Regions from separate parts of the Homo sapiens genome. Here all the other regions are linked to region 1. The links are contacts of gene promoters, found by promoter capture Hi-C in blood cells and fetal thymus (Javierre and others, 2016). All regions are on one chromosome and are shown on one strand. The core of a region is centred on a gene start or on the middle of the fragment in contact, and the rest is flanking DNA. Distances in the headings are between cores, read along the strand shown.

Region 1 (3,364 bases), core at 286-2,785:
TCTACTGTTAAAACATTTAGATACATTATTCCATAAAACTGCTATTAAGAGCTTTTTAAAAATAATATAGTTGCTAGTTGGTGAGAGCTCAGGTGTCATGCCCAGCACAAAATGTGTACCAACTATGTGACAAAATACACAATCCTATCAATAAGTTTAATAGTGAAAATGGCTAATTAAATCTACTTACATACAAATTTCAATAAAATTCAAGCAAAGTTTATTAAAATATAAACTGACTACCTCTTCATATGACTTTCAAATCACAGAACTCATGCTTTAGAGCAGTGATTCTCAAATCTATTTTTACATCTTGTCCCAGGTATCTCCAATTGTCTAATGAGTTGGCAAAAAAAAATAAATAAATAAAATAAAGCCCAACATGCAGGGATCAACAATCTACCAATCTACTTCTTCAAAGTGAACCACCCACCTGTTTTCTTAAAAAGTTTAGTATTTTTGCTGGCTGAGAAACCATGTCGTCTTCAGTTGTCAAAATTGGTACATCGCCTATAATCAAAAAACAGTTTACATACAAGGACACAGTGTGATTTCCTCTGAGAGATTCCAATATCCTAAAAACTATAGCAGTTGCACATTTAGAGGGGAAAAAATGAGTAAGCTTGTCTTGGTTTTTTTGCTGTTTCACAAAGAGCGGTTCTAAAGAACATTTTCGTTTCTCATAATTTCCAGTGATTTCGCTTGCACTTTGAGGTATTACTCAGAATGATCAAACCATAAACAACACAGAGCCAAGGTCACGGTAAGAAACTAAATCCTCAATATTATAGCTATATACCTCACAGCTTTAAATGGAAGAAGAAAAAAAAGAGTGCAGAAAGGGGAGTGTAAAGGTTTACACTATACCTCTTGAACCTCTCCAGGTGTTATCTATCACATTGACTTTCAAGGGTGCACCAGAAAATTTGGCATAAGCCTGAAACAGAGTTTGCAATCAAACATTTTAGACCAAGTGCGTAATGCAAAGCTGCAGAGCAGCTTTACTTCACAGCCCCATCCCCCAAAGGCAGAAGGCGACTGATACTGAGGCCGCATCCCTCCCCGTGATCTCAAGTAGGGACGCGGGCGCCAGCCACCCGGCTTTCGAGGACTTTGCTCCCCAAAAGGTCCTGGGGATGCAGAGTAGGGAGGGCGCGCCCCTTGCTTCGGGGTTTCACTCCACCGCCCAGACAGCTTTGTGAGGCGGACAAAACTCGGAGCCAAGCGGAGAAGCCTTGATGTCGCCGCCGGCCTTCGGCGGGGGTATCGGCCAGGTTGGGACTCGTCGGTGGGAGGGAGCCCAGGGCAATGCAGCGTGCAGCGGCTCGGCCCTCCTGGACCCCGCAGCGCAGCGGGAAACTGGGGCAAGTCAGCCTGGCGCCTCCAGCCCCGCCCCTTCCTCCTGCGCCCTGGCCCGCGAGGCGGCCTCACCATCACCACCAGGGACTCGCTGTGAACCGATGGGAGTCCCCAGCCGCCTCCCCAGCAACTGAGTTCCAAGGGGGCCGCCATCTTGCGCGGGCCGACCTTTACTATCCCGGAAGTACTTTTCCTCCTAATTTCCGGCACGTGAAACGCGGGGGCGTGGCTAAGGGAGGGAAGGGTAATTTGGGGGCTCTTGAGAGATGAGAGAAACAACGACTGGAGGGATTAAGAAGAACTCTTAGGAGCAGCTTGGCCTAAAGGGTAAGAGTTGTGTGCCTTAAGTCAGACCCACCAGTAATTCTTCAAATATTAATATTTATTAGATCCCTAGAGTGTTCCAAACCCTTTGAACATTAAATCTGTGTGATGCCTAAATTAACCTGTTTGTAAAACAGGGATGACCCAGTATTTACAAGATTGTGGTATTTACAATGTCGGAGAGAAAGAACTTGGCACACAGGAGGCACTCAGTAATTGTTCAACCCCTTCTCCCATGTATGTGGCCTCTGCCTGCCTTTCCAGCCTCAACCTGTTCTCACCCTCATGTTCACTGGCACAACCCTGCTTAAAAGTTACAGTATTTCTGAACGTCAGGTAAATTGTGCCCACCTTCAGTGCTGGTCCTTCAATCTGGAATATCTTTCTTCCCTATGCAGCTGCTCCCTCAAAAATGAGCTTAACTCACCTTCCCTGTGATGTTTTTACAAAGTTAGGAGCTCTGGGTTCTTGTAGCCCCTTGTGCATATTTGAATTGTAGCTTCTCTCCCTAGCTACAGACCTTTTGCCTTTCACAGAAGAGGGCTAGCTTCATAGGTTTGGGACCTGTGCAGCCACACAAGGCTCTGTGCTTAAAAAGGCTCCTCATTTGGCTGATGCTCTTCCGTCACTGTCTTGAAATTCTTAAGTTTTGAACAAGGGGCTCTGCATTTTTATTTTGGACTGGGCCCCTCAAATCATGTAGCTCGTCATGTCTGTGGGCCTAATGAGCACAGACTAAATGTTTCTTGACGTTAAACCTGACAGTTTCTCAGAAAAACTATTAAAGAGGAAATTTTGGTCTTGGAAATGCTATGATCCAAACATATGACTGGGTCTCAGAGTTAGAACTTGGGTGCTGGGTCTTTTTTCTAGAAGGCACAGTAGTCTTTCTGGGACACCCTCGCAGTCATGCCTCTGAGTTCTTTCCTCTATTCCACTGAGATGGTCGGATCTTCTTAACTAAAACTCAAAAGAAACCTCTGCAACTTTTCGTAAAATTACTATTCAACAAATATTTGCTAGGCACTCCCTTACTGTTTACATAATCATTCAAATTACAGTGCCAGCCTGCTAAAGTCTTTTTTACATGTTTCAAAACCAAGAGTTCTAAGAAATGAAAAAGAGATATGTCAGAAATGAGAATTCATTAATAATAACTGTATAATTGGAAAATGCATAACATATGTACCATTAAAACTGTCGAAACATTTATTGAGCAGCTCCTATGTCTTAGACATCATAAGGTTCTGGAACAATACAGAAATATATAAAACATGAATTCTGTCCTCGGGAGTTTACAGTGCACAAAGGAGATATACACACACCAAGGTGTAACAAGTCAGATAATCACGAGTAGGGTTAGAAATATAAGCAAAATACTACAGAAACACAAAGGAGGGACAGTGCATCCTCTGTGTGATCAGTGGAGACTATCTGTTGAGTCTTCAGTATAAAGAAAGTAAAGTAATTCAACTTTCAGATTGTAATGGAACCTCCCTGTTTTGAGGGTTAGAAATGTCAAACCATAGACTGACAAAGGCAAGGCAGGGGGAAAGAAAATCCTAAGCCATAAAGCTGAGGGTCCATATACTACATTCAGGCATTTAAAACAATCATACAGAAAGAATGTGGATTTCCTGAGCCTTGTTTGTAGCAGGACTGAGAGGAGTGAATGAACATT
Region 2 (3,360 bases), core at 42-2,541, 680 kb after region 1:
ACCTTAGCCTGCAGATGAGGTGAGACTAAAGGAAAAGCAGTCATTTTAATCTGTAGCTGTGATTGACAACCATTGAATTAGAGAAATGGTTCTATATATGTATATGTATGTGTGTATGTATATATATGAGTCATTGAAATTCTAATGAAAGCTGTTGGCCTTTTTCTTCAGAAAAATTCTCAAGCCAACAAAATTTTGCCTATAATTTTCAAGATTTCACACCTTTCCCACAAAGCCCAGATCCATGAACTCCTCCCTCAGCCAGGCTAATATTGATTGACTTATCTTAGATCATCAAGAAAAAAAAGGTGTTTTTGTTTTTAGTCTCTTTTAATACTTAGAAGCAGTTCACCTAAGTATAGTGGTTATTAAGCATAGAAGTCATAAAGTTTATCCATTAAAGCTCACTTTATTGATAGGAGCATTTACTCCAAGGTCTCAGAAGAGCGTATACATTATTGCTTTATACATAGAATGACCAACTTGGCATGTCCACATCACAGGAAATTAGAAGTAAGTAGACAGAGGGGGCACGTAGAAGCAGTGCCATTATTACAGGTGATAAGCTGTTTGATGGCATGGATAGACGTGGATGAATGGCAAAAAGCTACTGAGTGAACATAAATGCCCCATGGTCCAGGACCATTAGGGTGGGGTCAGCAATGCCATAACTCTCAATAGGTTTCGAAATATATTCTGATCACTCTGAATTGTCCAGACAAGGTTAAATTGAGTTCAGCATACTGTCTCTGGGAATATGAAATAGAATGTAATGTATCTGATGAGTATTTCTATCCAAATCATTTTTTTTAAAGTTGCTTATTTTGTTACCCAGGTATTAATATGTACAACAAACCCTCATGACACAAGTTTTCCTATATAACAAACCTGCACATGTACCCCTGAACTTAAAATGAAAGTTAAAAAAAAGTTGCTTAATATTCAAGTATTTAGATTGATTTAATTGTTAGCATCCCATAAGGATAAAACTTTTTTTTCCTGGAAGCTTATCTCATTTCCTAAAAGAATAAAGTATAAAGTAAGAATAAGTTTTTACAATGTAAGAAATATATTTTCTGTGTTGATTAACTTTTATACTACATAGTATATACCTGCATTTAATATAGAATACATACTATATTCCATGACATAAAAGTCATGGAAACAAAATAGGAAACTCATCAAAATTAAAAGCAAAGGCATTCTTAGGTATAGGAAAATTGTTATGCAATCCTTGGGGTGTTGCTTCGCCAGCTGTAAACCTCTGTGGCTGGTGGTGCCTTTGCCCGAGTTTTTACTTGGGCCTGCTGGGCTCATTCCTCCCACTCGGCCTGGCAGGCTGTGCTTGGCTTTTGCTTTTGGCCTGAATCTCGCAGCTGCCAAGGGTGAGCCAGGAGTGGAGTGGTGAGGGTGAGGGGTGTGTGAGCAGGTGACCATGGGGTCTGGCCCCTGTGCACTGCCAGGCATGCTGGCTTCGGCAGGGTGGGCAGCTCCAGGTGCCAGCGTGAGTGAGGGCTGGACCAGGCGTACCACAAACAGCTTCCACAGCTGGCACCAGGGAACACAGTGGCGCCCAGAAGCTTGGAGATTCCAGGAACTGCAGAGCCCCAGAGAGGGTGTCATAGACCTGGCTTAGGAGCCCCTAGGTCTGAGCTCCCCAGAGGTCCACAGCTCTTCTCTCCTGTCTTCTCTCCTTCTTGTTGCTGCAATGTGGCAAGCAAGAGATGGGTTTCAGGCCTGTTTGTGTTACAGCTCTTTTAGCCCTGCCATTCGGTGGGTCCCAGGTTCTTGTCCTGCTTCCAGGAAGAATGAAGTATGTGGACGAGTGGAGGGTGAGCAAGGCAAAGAGGGGCTTCCTTGAGTGACAGAACATTGAGGGGAGACCCGCAGTGGGTGCTTCTTTCTGCAGGCAGGGCATCCCATCAAGTGAGAAGTGATGAGCCTTCAGCCGAGAGGGGACCCTGGAGTGGGTAGCTCCTCTCCGCAGGCAGGTTGTCTGCTTGTCTCTTCAAGTTTGGCCGAGTCTGGGGATTTGTATGGGCTTGAGAGGAGGAAGTGTGTGCTGATTGGTTCATGGGCTGCCATGGGCGGGCTCAGAAAACACCGTAAGTTCTAATTCTGGTTCGTCAGCCTGGCCCCCAGGCTTCAGGCTGTTCCTGGCTTGAAGGTGGGGCTTCACCCGGACCTGACCCTTTCTGCTCAGGAGCCTGTCTGCCTCCTGCCGTCATCCATGGCACCCAGGCTGTTTGTGCCATGGGGCACCTGCAGGACAGCTCTGAGCTGCCCTCAGCCCTCTCCTTGGCCTCCTTCCCATGTTCATCAGTGTCCAAAGTCCAGAGGGGGCCGAGGCAGCAGGGGGCTGGCATGTTAGCACTGCCCTGAGCATGTGCACACCCAGCCAGGTTGCAACAGTTCCTAGGCTTGGCCTTAACTTTGAGATCAGAGTGGGTGCTGGGAGCTGGGAGAGGCCAGGCAGTCGGAGCAGGTACTTCTGAGCCTGCAGAGGGAGGGGGAATTCCCTTTCTGGGCCCTTGAGATTGCAGAGATGCCCGGGTCCACAGCCACAGCTTGGGTGGCTGTGGCTGCAGCTGCACCCAGGAGGGTGGGGCTCCTGCCTGCTCCCAGCCCCCAAGAGCACAGGGATGCCCAGGTTTGCAGCCACAACTGGGCAGCCACAGCTGTGCCCAGGGAGCGTGAGGCTCTCACCCTGCCAACTCAGAAGGGGGCGAGGCTTCTTCCACCCATTTCTGGCTCCTGTCGGTTCTGTGGAGCATGCAGCCCTGGCTGCGCCTCTCCTACTGCAGCTGGCGTTACGGCAGTGGCTGCTCCAGATGGGCTGCCATTGCCATCATAATGACCTGGATTTCTCTTGCCAACCTCTCCATGCCTCACCGTCTTCTTATTGCTGATCTTTGGAGGTTTGCTGGACTGCACTGTTCAAATAAATTGAGTTTTTTTTGAAAAGTTAGTATCTTTACCTGATGTCCCGGTGAAGCTGAATTGTTTTAAACATTTGGGAACTACAAAGTGTACATGTTTCTGGGTTTTCTTTTGGATTGGGGTTCCCATTTCTGGGCCATTTTGCTTCTCTCTCACTCTCCCCTCTTCTTTTTGGTCACTAGATTTTTAGGCCATATTTTTCATTGTAGGGGGAGCTGGGTAAATTTTTAGAAGTTGGCAGTGACAGAGTGGCAATTAATTAGAAGTTGGATTTAGCCAACTATAAATTTGTCTCATTTACATTTTTCTAAATTAAGTCTAATAAGCGAGGAATTTTCCCTAAGCTGTGAATTGGAATTAATTATGGTTCCTCACAGAAAGGTAAGAATAGTAGGAGTACTAATGTTGAAAATGTGGCCT
Region 3 (3,324 bases), core at 575-3,074, 760 kb before region 1:
GTGCGGTGGCATGATCTCAGATCACTGCAACCTTCGCCTCCCGGGTTCAAGCAATTCTCCTGCCTCAGCCTCCCAAGTAGCTGGGATTACAGGCACGTGCCACCACACCCGACTAATTTTGTATTTTTTATAGAGACGGGGTTTCACCATGTTGTCCAGGCTGGTCTTGAACTCCTGACCTCAAGTGATCTGCCCACCTCAGCCTCCCAAAGTGCTGGGATTACAGGCGTCAGCCACCATGCCCAGCCCCGTAATTCAGATTTGAAATGGGTTTTCTCTCTTTTTTGCCTTTCAGAACGTGTCTCTGACTTGCATTTGAGATTTGACACAAACTCAGTTACAAACTTTGAAAATTTGTGGTTTCAAATAATGAACTGTACAAAATGTTAAAAACCAGCTGGGCTCAGTGGCTCACGACTGTAATCCCAGCACTTTGAGAGGCCAAGGCGGTCGGATCACCTGAGGCCAGAAGTTCGAGACCAGCTTGGCCAACATGAAGAAACCCCGTCTCTAATAAAAATACAAAAATTAGTCGGGCTTGGTGGTGTGTGCCTGTAATCCCAGCTACTTGGGAGGCTGAGGCAGGAGAATCGCTTGAACCCGGGAGGCAGAGGCTGCAGTAAGCTGACATCGTGCCACTGTGCTCCAGCCTGGGCCACAGAGTGAGACTCTGTCTCAAAAAAAAAATTTTTTTTGGCTGTTTATTCAAATATCAGGACAATACTGAACCAAGTGTTGAAGCTTAGAGTTTAAGATGGACAATACTGAACTAAGTTTGAAGCTTAGCTAGTTCAGTACTGTTCTGTCATCTGAATAAACAGCTGTTTTTACTGAACCTAACAATACAAGGCTAATCCAAACGGTTTTGTATATACTTTAGAAATGTGAATAAATGTAAAAGAACTAATTTCCATTGTGCTTTACTATGGTGCACAACATCTGTGACTTGAATACTAATCGGAAAAAGAATGCCAATAATTATTATAAAGTCTACTAATTTTAAGAATGTGTTTCATCATAGTTTAGTAAGAATAGCAGAGATTGATATGACTGTTTTTGTATATGCATTCTGGGAACTCCCATAATTGAATACAACTTCAAAAGGGCTAAAGCCCAGTGACCTCAAAACGAGGTTCACAGAACAGTACATAATGATGAAACCTGAAGCAATAAAACACCAATGAACTGAAATGTAAACATTCATGCTGTTAGGACATGGCATTTTCATTTTTCATTTTGTTTTGGACTGTTACTGGGCTTTCCTCAGACACCTTCCTTTCATATATTAAACTCTGTCTTTCCAGAAAAGCTTCTGGAATTGTTTTTGTTTTTTGTTTTGGTCTCAAGGGCATTAGGGGAGAACCTAACAGGCTGGGGGCGAGCCCCACATAGTTCAGCACACCGTTCCCCGCGGCAACACGCTACTTCTGAACGCAGGAGCGACTCTCCGTCCGGGCTCCCTCCAGGAGAATGGAGGCAAATGTACATTCGAGGGTCTCAATACCTGGAATTCGAAACGTCTCAGTTCCTCCGCCTTAGTTCCTCTTTTCCCGGGTTCGGAGGCCACCTGTGCAGCAGGGCACACCTGCCACTCTCATCGCCCTCGGAGCCGGCAACCAGCCGACAGCCGGCTCCAGCCCCGGGGAACTGGAGGCTGCGCGGAAGGAAGGAGAGTCGGGAGCGCGGCCGCTCGCGGGCTGGCTCAGGGGACGCCGAGAGGAGGCGCCGGCGCGCGCGGGCGGGGTGCGCGCGCCGCCGCCGCCGCGTCACCAGCGTGCGGCACGTGCCCATGTTTACGTCCCTCGTGGAGCCGCCGACGTCAGCAGTCGAATGGCAACATTGTGGCGATGCTGAGGCGCAGAGTTTAGGAGACGGGTTCATCAGTCAGGCCGGCTCCGGGCTTTCTGCAGCAGCACCAGGGGCGGGGGCGGGGATCTTGACCTGGGCGAGCGACCGGGACGCATACAGCGCCGGCCTGACCCCGCGGGACCCGCGCCTCACCACCGGAGCGCCGCAGACGCAGCTCCACGGCCTCGCGCGGGGGGCGGCGGGCGGCCGCGAGGCGCTGCGGCAGCGCGGAGCTTGTAAACAGATCCGGCCGCAGGTGACCATGTGAACTACCTGCTCCCGGGACGCTTATTGTCCTTCTCTCGATCCGCGCCACAAAGGAGCTCGGCGGTCGGGGCGCGGAGGGACAGGCGAACGAGCCGGGAGAGCCGGCCGGCGCACTAAGATGGCTGAAGGCGCCCGGCGAGGGTGAGCGGGGGGCGCGGCGCAGCCAGCGGGGAGTCCTCGGGCGGGCCGGGCCGGCGGCCCTTCCCCGCGGCGAGAAGCCGGAGCCACCATGTCGTTCGCGCTGGAGGAGACGCTCGAGTCGGACTGGGTGGCTGTGCGGCCCCATGTGTTCGACGAGCGCGAGAAACACAAATTCGTCTTTATTGTGGCCTGGAACGAGATTGAGGGCAAGTTTGCCATAACCTGCCACAACCGGACGGCCCAGAGGCAGAGGAGCGGCTCCCGGGAGCAAGCGGGGGCGCGAGGGGGCGCCGAGGCCGGCGGAGCTGCGTCCGACGGGAGCCGCGGGCCCGGCAGCCCGGCGGGCAGGGGTCGGCCCGAGGCCACTGCCTCTGCAACTCTGGTTAGGAGCCCCGGGCCCCGGCGGAGCTCGGCCTGGGCGGAGGGCGGCTCTCCTCGGAGCACTCGCAGCCTTCTGGGGGACCCGCGGCTGCGGAGTCCTGGCAGCAAAGGGGCGGAGAGTCGTCTTAGGAGCCCAGTGCGGGCCAAACCCATCCCGGGTCAGAAAACATCTGAAGCCGACGATGCGGCGGGGGCAGCCGCTGCAGCAGCCCGGCCGGCGCCCAGAGAGGCCCAGGTGTCCTCTGTACGGATAGTGAGCGCCTCTGGGACGGTCTCCGAGGAGATAGAGGTGCTGGAAATGGTGAAGGAGGACGAGGCACCTCTGGCGCTCTCGGACGCGGAGCAGCCGCCGCCCGCCACCGAGCTGGAGTCTCCGGCCGAAGAGTGCAGCTGGGCCGGACTGTTTTCTTTCCAGGACCTGCGCGCCGTGCACCAGCAGCTGTGCTCGGTGAACTCGCAGTTGGAGCCGTGCCTGCCGGTGTTCCCCGAGGAACCTTCGGGCATGTGGACTGTGCTGTTTGGGGGCGCCCCCGAGATGACCGAGCAGGAAATCGACACTCTGTGTTACCAGCTCCAGGTCTACCTGGGCCACGGCCTGGACACCTGCGGCTGGAAGATCCTCTCCCAGGTGCTCTTCACCGAGACCGATGATCCCGAGGAGTATTACGAAAGCCTCAGCGAGCTGCG

The links. Contacts are between HindIII fragments. The CHiCAGO score rates a contact against its expected background, and 5 or more counts as called.
Region 2: a contact is called between a fragment that was not itself captured here and the fragment with the promoter of MTX3 in region 1, in 1 of 17 cell types (total B cells). The highest score is 5.4, in total B cells.
Region 3: the fragment with the promoter of JMY here is called in contact with the fragment with the promoter of MTX3 in region 1 in 2 of 17 cell types (naive CD8 T cells and fetal thymus); the score reaches 5.6 in naive CD8 T cells.

Annotation. Positions count from the first base shown.
Region 1 is chr5:79,989,727-79,993,090 of GRCh38, forward strand. It overlaps MTX3 (metaxin 3), which reads right to left and starts at 1,536. Exons shown (of 9, transcript NM_001363818.2): 1 at 1,432-1,536; 2 at 868-937; 3 at 434-510. The coding sequence starts at 1,512. It also overlaps a transcript of THBS4 not described here. RefSeq lists an enhancer at 1,034-1,203. The HindIII fragment of the contact is 4,262 bases long and covers 621-3,364 here.
Region 2 is chr5:80,666,172-80,669,531 of GRCh38, forward strand. The region is part of intron 3 of MSH3 (mutS homolog 3); the gene reads left to right. Among named protein-coding and RNA genes, the nearest start is that of DHFR, 13 kb to the left of the region's middle. RefSeq lists enhancers at 1,420-1,987, 1,988-2,556. The HindIII fragment of the contact is 574 bases long and covers 1,005-1,578 here.
Region 3 is chr5:79,234,307-79,237,630 of GRCh38, forward strand. JMY (junction mediating and regulatory protein, p53 cofactor) reads left to right here and starts at 1,825. Exons shown (of 11, transcript NM_152405.5): 1 at 1,825-3,324. The coding sequence starts at 2,345. It overlaps LOC124901011 (a long non-coding RNA gene), which reads right to left and starts at 1,717. Exons shown (of 2, transcript XR_007058836.1): 1 at 1,505-1,717. RefSeq lists silencers at 1,727-1,776, 1,817-1,866, 1,897-2,336, 2,507-2,776, 3,060-3,324 and enhancers at 2,279-2,915, 2,967-3,324. The HindIII fragment of the contact is 5,598 bases long and covers 1,308-3,324 here.